Regions from separate parts of the Homo sapiens genome. Here region 2 is linked to region 1. Evidence: promoter capture Hi-C in human tissues and cell types (Jung and others, 2019). All regions are on one chromosome and are shown on one strand. Each heading gives the region's core, a stretch centred on a gene start or on the middle of the fragment in contact. The rest is flanking DNA. Distances are from core to core; before and after follow the strand shown.

Region 1 (5,172 bases), core at 2,070-4,569:
TTTTGACACCCATCACCACAATCGAGATAATAAACATATATATCACCCCCAAAAGTTTCATGTCCCTTTGTTAATGGTGGAGGGTGTCCAGTTTCTTAGCGTCTTGAACAAACAATTAGACGAAACGCACAAAGAAAGGAAGGAAAGAAGGGTTTCATTGAAAATGAAAGTACACTCTACATTATGGGAGCAGGCCTGAGCATAAGGCCTCAAAATCCCCATTATAGAATTTTTGAGCATTTAAATACCCTCTACTTGGGGTACACCCTATGTAAATGAAGAGGATGAAGTAAAGCTACAAAGTCATTTAGTTGGCCTACACCCTGTGAAGAGGATATTTCCTGTCATTACCGAAGTGTGAATCGGCCTTCTGTTCCCTGCCTCCAGACCCTATTTTCCTGGCTCATCTGCCCGCTGAGAGATGTGATCCCCATAAATCTTTATGGGAGGCAGAGGGACTGATGGTCTTTTTTCTGTAACTGCTTCATGCTGGCTTGGGGTGTAGTCCCTACCTACTGGTGATCATGGAACTCGCCCTGCTCTATCTAGTGGAGGCAGGGTAGTTTCTTGATGGCTAGGGGTGGTGTCTTCACCTGGAACTGGCTGGAACCTTTGTTGCATGATCATCTGAAGCTTGATGGTCTCCAGACGAGAGGAAATTAATTTGGTTAAAAGATTTAATGGGATGGCCGGGCGCGGTGGCTCACGCCTGTAATCCCAGCACTTTGGGAGGCCGAGGCGGGCGGATCACGAGGTCAGGAGATCGAGACCATCCTGGCTAACACGGTGAAACCCTGTCTCTACTAAAAATACAAAAAATTAGCCGGGCGAGGTGGCGGGCGCCTGTAGTCCCAGCTACTCCGGAGGCTGAGGCAGGAGAATGGCGTGAACCCCAGGGGGCGGAGCCTGCAGTGAGCCGAGATTGCGCCACTGCACTCCAGCCTGGGCGACAGCGAGACTCCGTCTCAAAAAAAAAAAAAAAAAAGATTTAATGGGAACTTCATGGGGTGGATACCTACGCTGTCAGAGATGTTTGTTATAGAGATTTGCAGAAAAAAAAACAAAACCTAGTCTGTTCTAGAATCTATGTTTCCTTGAAGTCTTAGCACAAGCAACTCCATTTTGGTTTGGTTTGGTTTGTTGGGGCCTAATGCATGAGCTTAGTCCAAAACAATGGCCTCGCAAAATTTTGTGCAAAAAATTCCCCCTTTTTGGTCAGGTTCTCACTTAGGTGAGAGTGTGACCAAAACTTAGGGCCTTAGCGCCACTCTCAGTTACCATCATTTTGGGTTTCGGTCTCAGCACATCATTTATAGGTTTTGGTGTTCTCATGGTTGCACATTTCTTTCAGCTTTTGTCATTCCAGTTGAAGAGAGAACATCTGACGTTCTAGAGATGACCGCGTGCAAACATTTAAAACCTTTGAGAGAATACAGCACACCAGGGAGACTATTATTATAAATATTGGGAGGATAACACCAAGAGTTCGGGGTATGCTCCTAAACCCAAGGCCCCGATAAACCAAACCTCCTAAAATCAAATAGATCAAAGAATGAGCTAGATAAAGGGTTTACTCACTTGACTAAGCAATTTCTTCGTTAATCCTCTACCACTGAATTTATTTTTTTCTTTTTTCCTTTTTTTTTTTTTTTAGACGGAGTCTTGCTCTGTCGCCCAGGTTGGAGTGCAGTGGCACAGTCTTGGTTCACTGCAACCTCTGCCTTCCGGGTTCAAGCAATTCTCTTGCCTCAGCTTCCTGAGTAGCTGCGATTACAGGCACCTGCCACCACGCCTAGCTAATTTTTGTATTTTTAGTAGAGATGGGGTTTTGCCATGTTGGCCAGGCTGATCTTGAACTCCTGACCTCAGGTGATCTGCCTGCCTCGGACTCCTAAAGTGCTGGGATTACAGGTGTAAGCCACCGCGCCCAGCCAATGAGGGATACATTTCTAATCATTGCTTCTTTTACTTCAAACCATGGTAAAAGGACCTAACAAATGATGCCTTTCTAGAAGAGTGAAGGCCTACTGGCAATGTTTTCTTTAACCCATGATGTGGGTTAGAGGAGTGAACCAATGTTTTGTTTTTGACTGATTATGAAGCAATGCATGTACCATTAAAGTTTCTTACCTACTTCGGGCCTTCATCTTTTATCTATCAAAGTCTAAGTTTATCCATGTATAAGGCTGGCTGCAAACTCCTTCACAAATAAAAGTATACCCCATAAGTGCACATAACAGACCCCTTTTCCACTTCTATTGTTTGTAGAGGCATAAGGAAGACAAAAAATATTGAAAGATAAGAGTTTCATGGTAGTAGAAGTCTTAATCTGTGAACTTGGGAAAAGCTGTTCACATCAAGGATGCCATTTTCTTCTTGGGAGAAATTTCCCAGGGTAGCTTTACCTCAAAAGTTCCAATGGGTGCACTGTTCCAAAAGTGTGGAGGGACCGTTCTCATTTGCGAGACCATGAACCCAAAGCCCAAGGTCCTGAAGTTTTGTTGTAGTGTGGATGACAAGGACAGTCTTCTCCAATGTTTCCAGAAAATTCAAACCATAAAAAGCTTTCTTTACCGGGGGAAAATACACTGTAGCATAATAATCTACTGTTATAACATCAGCCCTCTTGCATGGGAAAGCTTTTATACAACCAGAATGACAAATTGGAATTCAAATAACAATTGAATGAAATCCCCTTACAAAATGTTTAAATGGCCCACCCGGTGACCAAATGTACATGAAGCTTTGTTTGTCTTCCCAGGAATATGGGACTAAGCATTGGTTATAAACTATTTTAAACAATTTCAGTATCAGCTGGTTTAATATGAAAATCTGACGAAGTATTTTCTTGGTATTTAATTAAATTTTTGCTTGTTTTACTTGGGTTAGTAGCTTTATGCAAGGAAATTTCATTCAAAGCAATGAAAAACAACAACCAGGGCTGATACTGACTACTAAAAACTGTTTTAAACTCAGAAGGAAAAATAATATGGATTTCAGGCGTTCCCAGGTTATAAATGGGTTTTCTGCATGTTTGAAACCAAAAACAAACTTTCCTATAGAAATATCAGTAAATCTAGCAAAGAAATAACACACCCCAACCGTGTCATAGCCTGTCTTAAATAAGGGAAAAACATGAGAGCACTAGTAAGAGGCAAGTAAAGGGTGCTTTGCTTTACAATTGATGGAAGCTCGCAGGCTTTGTTCTTGGCTGCCCCACGCAGCCAGCGGAAGGCAGGCCAAGGAGGAAAGAGCCCGGCCTCCCAGGTCCCCGCAACTACAACTCCCAGGATGCCGCGGCGCAGGCTCCCTGCGGGAGCAGGCTGGGCTCAGCTCCGCTGGACCCGCGCTGGGGAACTCTGGCCTCGCTGCACTCATGGCTTCTCCTAGCAAGGCAGTGATTGTTCCCGGGAACGGAGGCGGGGATGTGACCACCCACGGCTGGTATGGCTGGGTGAAAAAGGAGCTGGAGAAGGTAAGCGCCCAACGCCGCTGCTCCGTGAAGTCAGCCTGGAGGGAGGGACGGCGGGAGAGGACTGAGGGCTGAAGTTTGAATAGGCGTCTAATCCCCTCTAGCAAAGCCCTGTGTGTTTTCCTGCCTCTCCCCCGCTGCCTTCTCTTAAAGTCTGAGCTAGTGGTCGAATTTTGACTGGTAAAACTGCCTGGAAGACTTCTCTGAGGGCTCAGCCTTTAGAGTTAAAGGAACCCCTTTGAACTACCGAGGCTGAGCCCCTGAGCCCCGCCCCCCGTATCTGCTGCTGGTTCAGATTTGGGACTTCCCAGATAATTTTACATGTTCACTGCTTCCCGCTTCAGCTTTTAAAAAATTAAATATGCTATACTTAATATATACAAAGGATATACGTAACATGCGTCTACATTATGAGGCATAATGTAATGAATTACCAAACTAAAACCTGGGACATTGCCTATACATCATCTTCCAAACGACCCTTATGTCTACCCATCTCAGTCCCGTGCCATCCTGAATTTTTTCATCTGCTTCTCTTTTTAAAATTGAAGTACTTTTCAACCTATGAATATACCTTTTAAACAACAGACTGTTCTATTTGGCTTCTTGGTGAGCTTTATAAAAGTGGCATCTTACTGTAGGCTGACCTGTGCCGTTTGATTTTTATTTTTTAACCCTCTTCTGTAACCAGGCGGTAAGTCGGCTCCCTGGGTTGCTGTCCTCTAGAGCGGGTCTCCAGAATAGATTGCAGCGCTGTGGCTGAAAACCCTGGTCAGAGTTACAACCCCAAAGGTCAGGGCTGGAGCTTCTGAGAGTATGCTGTCTCCAAATTTCTGTATCACGTTCCTGTGCCACGTTTTACCTACTCCCTGGAACACAGTCTATTTGGCTCCAGGTCAGTCTGTCTAGAACACATTTGTTCATGCCTCTCTATAGATGCAGGCCTGTAGAGGCAAATATGGGTGTACAAATGCAGATATAGGTCTCTCTATAGAGATCAGCAGAGCTGCCTAGATACAGAACTACAGATGGAGTTCATGCGAAAAGATGGTCACTTAACCTACTTCATTTCATAACACAAGTTAATACTGAATTGGTAACGATCATATCAGGTGCCTCATTTCTTATTAGCAAAGTATTAGTTGTAATTAAGCTCTTTATTATAGCTTTTTCTCCCCCCTCATATCATAGATACCTGGTTTCCAGTGTTTGGCTAAAAACATGCCCGACCCAAGTAAGTTTTAAACTTGTTTTTAAATAGCCTCATCTTGTTGGGTTTTGATATTACCATTTTTGTGGTAGAGAACAAGAATATCATAGTGGAGGAACCAAAGATGCCTATATACCTAAGAAAGAATAAGGCAAGCAGCTTGGGGAGGAGGGTGTGAACCAAAAGCCATAGAAAATTCTTTTTTTTTTTTTTTTTTCAATTCTGTGAATTTGTCATTTTTATTTATTTATTTATTTATTTATTTATTTATTTATTTATTGATCATTCTTGGGTGTTTCTCGCAGAGGGGGATTTGGCAGGGTCACAGGACAATAGTGGAGGGAAGGTCAGCAGATAAACAAGTGAACAACGGTCTCTGGTTTTCCTAGGCAGAGGACCCTGCGGCCTTCCGCAGTGTTTGCGTCCCTGGGTACTTGAGATTAGGGAGTGGTGATGACTCTTAACGAGCATGCTGCCTTCAAGCATCTGT
Region 2 (5,439 bases), core at 2,646-5,145, 950 kb after region 1:
TATATATTTTTAACAGGTCTTTTCAAAGATCCCAATTCTAACTGGTATAAGATGAGCTCTCTACTAATAAATCCGAAAGGCCTTGATGATCACCTTATCTAAAGTAGTTTGCCACCCCACTTGCCTCCACTGTCTATCCTCTTTCTGTTCTGTATGATTTTTGAAGCACTTATCAGCAACTGACACACTGTATATTTGTTTAGTTGTTTACTGTCTCTTTAACCCTAATAGAATATCTGCTCCATAAGTATAGGTACTTTGTTTTCTTCATCACTGAATTGCCAATGAATTTTTCGAATGTCACTTGGCACATAGATGATAAACACTAAATATTTGTTGAAGTTGTTGATTGAAGTAATTGTTCTTTCATTGAGGATTTTTGTTTTTGTTTTTTTGTCTACCCTGTGAATTTTATTCCATGGATTTTAGTTGTTCTTGTTGAGTTTGGCATTTCATCCTCATAGTTTCTTCCCCACCACTTTCCTGAAACTGCTTTTACTCATATGACCATGGAACGTCACATTGCTAAATCCAATGGCCAATTCTTAGTCCTCATCTCATACAACATAGTCAGTCATATCTTCTCTTCACTTTGAAACACTTTACTTACTTGGCTTCCGGAATCCCACACACTCTTCCTGATTTTCCACCTACCTATCTGGTCCTTTTCAGGCTCCTTTGCTGGTTCCTCTTCATCTCCTAACCGCTGATCTCCAGAGTCCCCATGCATACTAAGTTCTTAGACTTCTTCTCTTTACTCTCTGCACTAATTCCCTTAGTTTTCTGATTCAGTTTCATGACTTTAAATATCTTCTCTCTGCTGTTGGTTCCCAAATTTATGTCTGTCCTTGACCTCTCTCCAGATTTCTGACTTGTAGATGCAACTGTCTATTCAACACTTGCCCTTGGATGTTTCATAGACATCTCAACTTCTCATAATTAAAACAGAAATCTTGATATTTTTCCCCCAAATCTGCTTCACTTCCAGTCTTCCCCATCTTGTAAATGTCAATTTCATCCTTCCAGCTTCAGATTTTATCCTTGTCTCTTCTCTTTCACATCCCACATCAGTACATTCTGTTGGTTCTACCCTCAAAATATATATAGAATTCTATCACTCCTCATTACCTCCATTGCTATCACCCTGGTCTAACTCACCATCACCTCTAAACTGGATTACTGCAATGGTCTCTTGGCTGGTCTCTCTGCTTCTGCTATTCTCAGCACAGCCATGAAAGCCATGCTGTTAAGTTGTAGGTCAGTTTATGCCACTTCCTTGCCAAAATTATCAAAGGCTTCCCTTTACTCTCACAGTGAAGCCAAATCCTTATGGAGGATTTGTAGAAATCCCGTGGGATCTGTCCTCTCGTTGCCCTTCCTGACCTCATCTGACCCGCACTCTATCCTCACCTGCCCCACTCTTGCCATGATGGCCTCTGCACCCTTCCTTGAACAAACCAGGCACATCCTATTATATTTATTCTTCCCCATGTTTAGAACGCTCTTTCTTCAAGAATCCAAATGGCTTTCCCATCACTTCCTTCCGTTCTCTACTCAGATGTAACCTCCTCAGTGAGGTCTTCTCTGACCACCCTGTCTAAAATTACCAGATGCCCCACCATCCTCCCAGTTCCCTTTTCTTTATTTTTCTCTGTAACACTTATCACCACTTATTATACTCTATTTTTCACTTATTTATCTTATTTACTTTCTGTTTTCTCCAATTGAATATAAGCTCCACAAGAACAGGGATCAGGGATTTTTATTTTCTTCTTTTTTTTTCTTTTTGAGAGAGAGTCTTGCTGTTGTCGCCTAGGCTGGAGTGCAATGGTGTGATCTCGGCTCACTGCAACCTCTGCCTCCTGGGTTCAAACAATTCTCCTGCCTCAGCCTCCTGAATAGCTGGGATTACAGGTGCCCGCCACCATGCCCAGCTAATGTTTTTGTATTTTTAGTAGAGACGAGGTTTCACCATGTTGGTCAGGCTGGTCTTGAACTCCTGACCTCAGGTGATCCACCCGCCTCTGCCTCTCAAAGTGCTGGGATTACAGGTGTGAGCCGTCACACCCAGCCTTATTTTATTTTTTTCACTTCTGTATCCCAAGGCCCAGAAGAGTGTTGGCACAGGGTAGGTTGTCAATACATATTTGTTGAATAAATACATGAATAAGATTGGTGGTGTAGATGTACAAGTGATTTCAGGTACAGATGTGATACCTAAGGGTAGCAGCCATCTGTGAGCTTGAGCACTGATATAGTTTGGATGTTGTCACCTCTAAATTTCAAGTTGAATTGTAATCCCCAATGTTAGAAGAGGGGCCTGGTGGGAGGTGATTGGATCGTGGGTGTGGATCACTCATAAACGGCTTAGCGCCTTCTCCCTGGTGCTGTCTTTGTGACAGTGAGTGAACTCTTGAGAGATCTGGTCATTTAAAAGTGTGTGGCACCTCTCTGCCTTCCTCCCACTCTCACTGTGTGACCAGACAGCTCCCCCTTTGCCTTCTACCATGAGTAAAAACTCCCTGAGGCCTCCTCAGAAGCCGAGCAGATGCTGGTGCCATGCTTCCTGTACAGCCTGCAGAACCGTGAGCCAACTAAACTTCTTTTCTTTATAAATTACCCAGTCTAAGGTATTTATAGCAATGCAAGTATGGCCTAATACAGGCACTAAGCCACATACTAAAGCCAGCAGAGTGAAGAGTTGGAATGAACCTGGGACTGAAGGCTCCACCACACTCGCCCTGAACTGCCTACCTCTGGACTGCATGTCATCATGTTAGGGAAGCAGGAGCATAGGAGAGCCAGAGTGGCACCATTTTAAAATCAACTCCATCGTAAAACTGGCAAGGCACATTTCTTGTCTATCATGACCTGTGGTTATATGATGTTTACAGCTGAGGAAACAGCTTAACAATGCCTGCAAGGATAAACTATGACAGAAAAAAATGTCCAGATGTCCTGGTATTGCATAATAATACATGCTTTTAAAATGATTGTAGTTGGCCAGGTACGGTGGCTCACGCCTGTAATCCCAGCACTTTGGGAGGCCGAGGCGGGTGGATCACCTGAGGTCAGGAGTTTAAGACCAGCCTGGCCAACATGGTGAAACCCCATCTCTACTAAAAATACAAAAATTAGCCGGGTGTGGTGGTGGGCAGATGGGCACCTGTAATTCCATCTACTCAGGAGGCTAAGGCAGGAGAATAGCTTGAACCTGGGTGGCAGAGGTTGCAGTGAGCTGAGATCACGCCATTGCCCTCCAGCCTGGGAGATAAGAGTGAAACTCCGTCTCAAAAAAAAAAAAAAAAAAAGGATTATAGTCATGCTTTGATGTACTTATGCACTAAAATGCCAAGAACAGTTTTCTTTAAATCAACAAACTAATAAATCTTGTGACACTGTCAGCCCCCCAACAGGTAGATATAGCTTAACTTTTATATAGGTAAGACCCTATATAAGAAAAATTTAAAACAAAGATGAGACATTTCTCCTCTTGCTTTCTGAGGACACCCTACTCTGTAACTAAGTGGCTTTTAATAAGCTTTCTCTTCTCACTGTTCTCTGTGACTTGCCTTGACTTCTTTCCTGCACAAAGTCCAAGAACCCCCTCTTGGTGTCTGGGTCAGGATCCCTTTCCTGGCAACAATTAGAGAAAAATAATCCTGATGTGGGTAAGCCTGTTGTGTGCATCTGAAAGCAATCCCGAGTGGTACTACCTCATGGCCTGGAAAGGTTGAGAACTATTCTGAGGGTAAATAGAGAAGTGGGCTTGGGACAGATCTCCTAGTGATATGGTTTGGATCTATGTCCCCACCCAAATTTCATGTCTAATTGTAATCCCCAGTGTTGCAGATGGGACCTAGTGAGAGGTGATTGGATCATAAGGGTAGATCCTTTATGAGTGGTTTACTTTTTATTTAATTAATTTATTTATTTTTGAGACAGGGTCTTGCCCTGTTTCCCAGGCTGGAGTGTAGTGGCACGATCTTGGCTTACTGCAACTTCTGCCCCCCGGGTTTAAGTGATTCTTGTGCCTCAGCCTCCTGAGTAGCTGGGATTACAGGTGTGTGCCACCACGCCAGGCTAGTTTTTGTATTTTTAGTACAGACGGGGTTTCACCATGTTTCCCAGGCTGGTCTCGAACTCCCGACCTCAAGTGATTCACCCTCCTTGGCCTCCCAAAGTGCTGGGATTACAGGCATGAGCCTACTGTGCCTGGACTGTGAATGGTTTGGCACCATCCCTTTGGTGCTGTTCTCGTGATAGAGTTCTCATGAGATCTGCTTGTTTCAAAGTGTGAAGCACCTCCCCACTCTCTCTCTTGCTCCTGCTCTGGTGATGTAAAACGTGCTTGCCCCTGCTTTCCTTCTGCCATGATTGTGAGTTTCCTGAGGCTTCCCCAGAAGCAGAACCTGCCATGCTTCTTGTACAGCCTAAGGAACCATGAGTCAATTAAACCTCTTTTCTTTATAGATTACTCAGTCTTGGTATTTCTTTATAGCAGTGCGAGTACAGACTAATACAACCAGGAACCCCAGTAATTCAAAGATGTGATATTTAAGAGGATTCGTTCTAGAGGCTGAGAAGGAATAACAAACATGGCAAAACACAGAAGCAACTGGATTCATGCAGCCAAGATCAAGTGCTGCAAAAGGGAAATATGGGGCTGGCATAGTGGCTCACACCTATAATCCCAACAGTTTGGGAGGCCAAGGCAGGGGAATCACTTGAGACAAAGAGTTTGAGACCAGCCTGGGCAACATAGTGAGACTCTATCTCTACAAAAAATAATTTAAAAACTAGCCTGATGTGGTGGCATGTGCTTGTAGTCCCAGCTATTTGGGAGGCAAGGGCAGGAGGACCCCTTGAGCCCAGGAGTTTGAGGCTATAGTGAGCTATGATCACACCACTGCACTCCAGCCTGGGTGACAGAGCAAGACCTCATCTAAAAAACAAACAAACAAACAAACAAACAAAACTACCACCACCAAAAAACAATAAGTATAAGAATCTGTTTTCTTTTGTAAAAATACACAGTTGGAGACTGGTTATTTTACCAAGGCTTTGACTGAAATGTTATGCTTTTAGACTGATTTTTTAAAAATTGAGGTTGACTCCAAGAACTGATAAAAGCCCCTTGGAGAAGACTGGCATCATACTCGGTCTATGCAGTCTCTGTACCTGGTGAGAAAAGAATGTCACTTTCTAATGGCCCAAGAACCCCAAGTTATCTTGGGACCTCCAGAGGAGAGGAATTCACCCAATTCATACAGGTATTTGCAGGAACAGATAAATTTGTGGCTGGGCTTGAGGCTTTAACAAGTCTGAATCTGAGATTTCTTATGTAAAAAGTTTCAGCAAAGCCAGTTTAAGAGAGCCTGTAAGGCAAATAATTATTATTGGTAAACTTTATGCAAATCATCAGGCCAAGAATAGTAA

Evidence for each region. The method cuts DNA at HindIII sites, captures the fragments that hold promoters and counts their contacts. A contact is called where the count stands out against the background at its distance.
Region 2: a contact is called between a fragment that was not itself captured here and the fragment with the promoter of RBBP9 in region 1, in 1 of the 25 tissues and cell types used here (aorta).

What each region holds. Positions count from the first base shown.
Region 1 is chr20:18,495,372-18,500,543 of GRCh38, reverse strand. It overlaps RBBP9 (RB binding protein 9, serine hydrolase), which reads left to right and starts at 3,319. Exons shown (of 5, transcript NM_006606.3): 1 at 3,319-3,475; 2 at 4,664-4,706. The coding sequence starts at 3,377. RefSeq lists enhancers at 3,157-3,216, 3,317-3,366, 2,970-3,534, 3,387-3,546, 3,717-3,766. The HindIII fragment of the contact is 15,876 bases long and covers 1,600-5,172 here.
Region 2 is chr20:17,548,335-17,553,773 of GRCh38, reverse strand. It overlaps a transcript of BFSP1 not described here. Among named protein-coding and RNA genes, the nearest start is that of DSTN, 19 kb to the left of the region's middle. The HindIII fragment of the contact is 4,704 bases long and covers 1,544-5,439 here.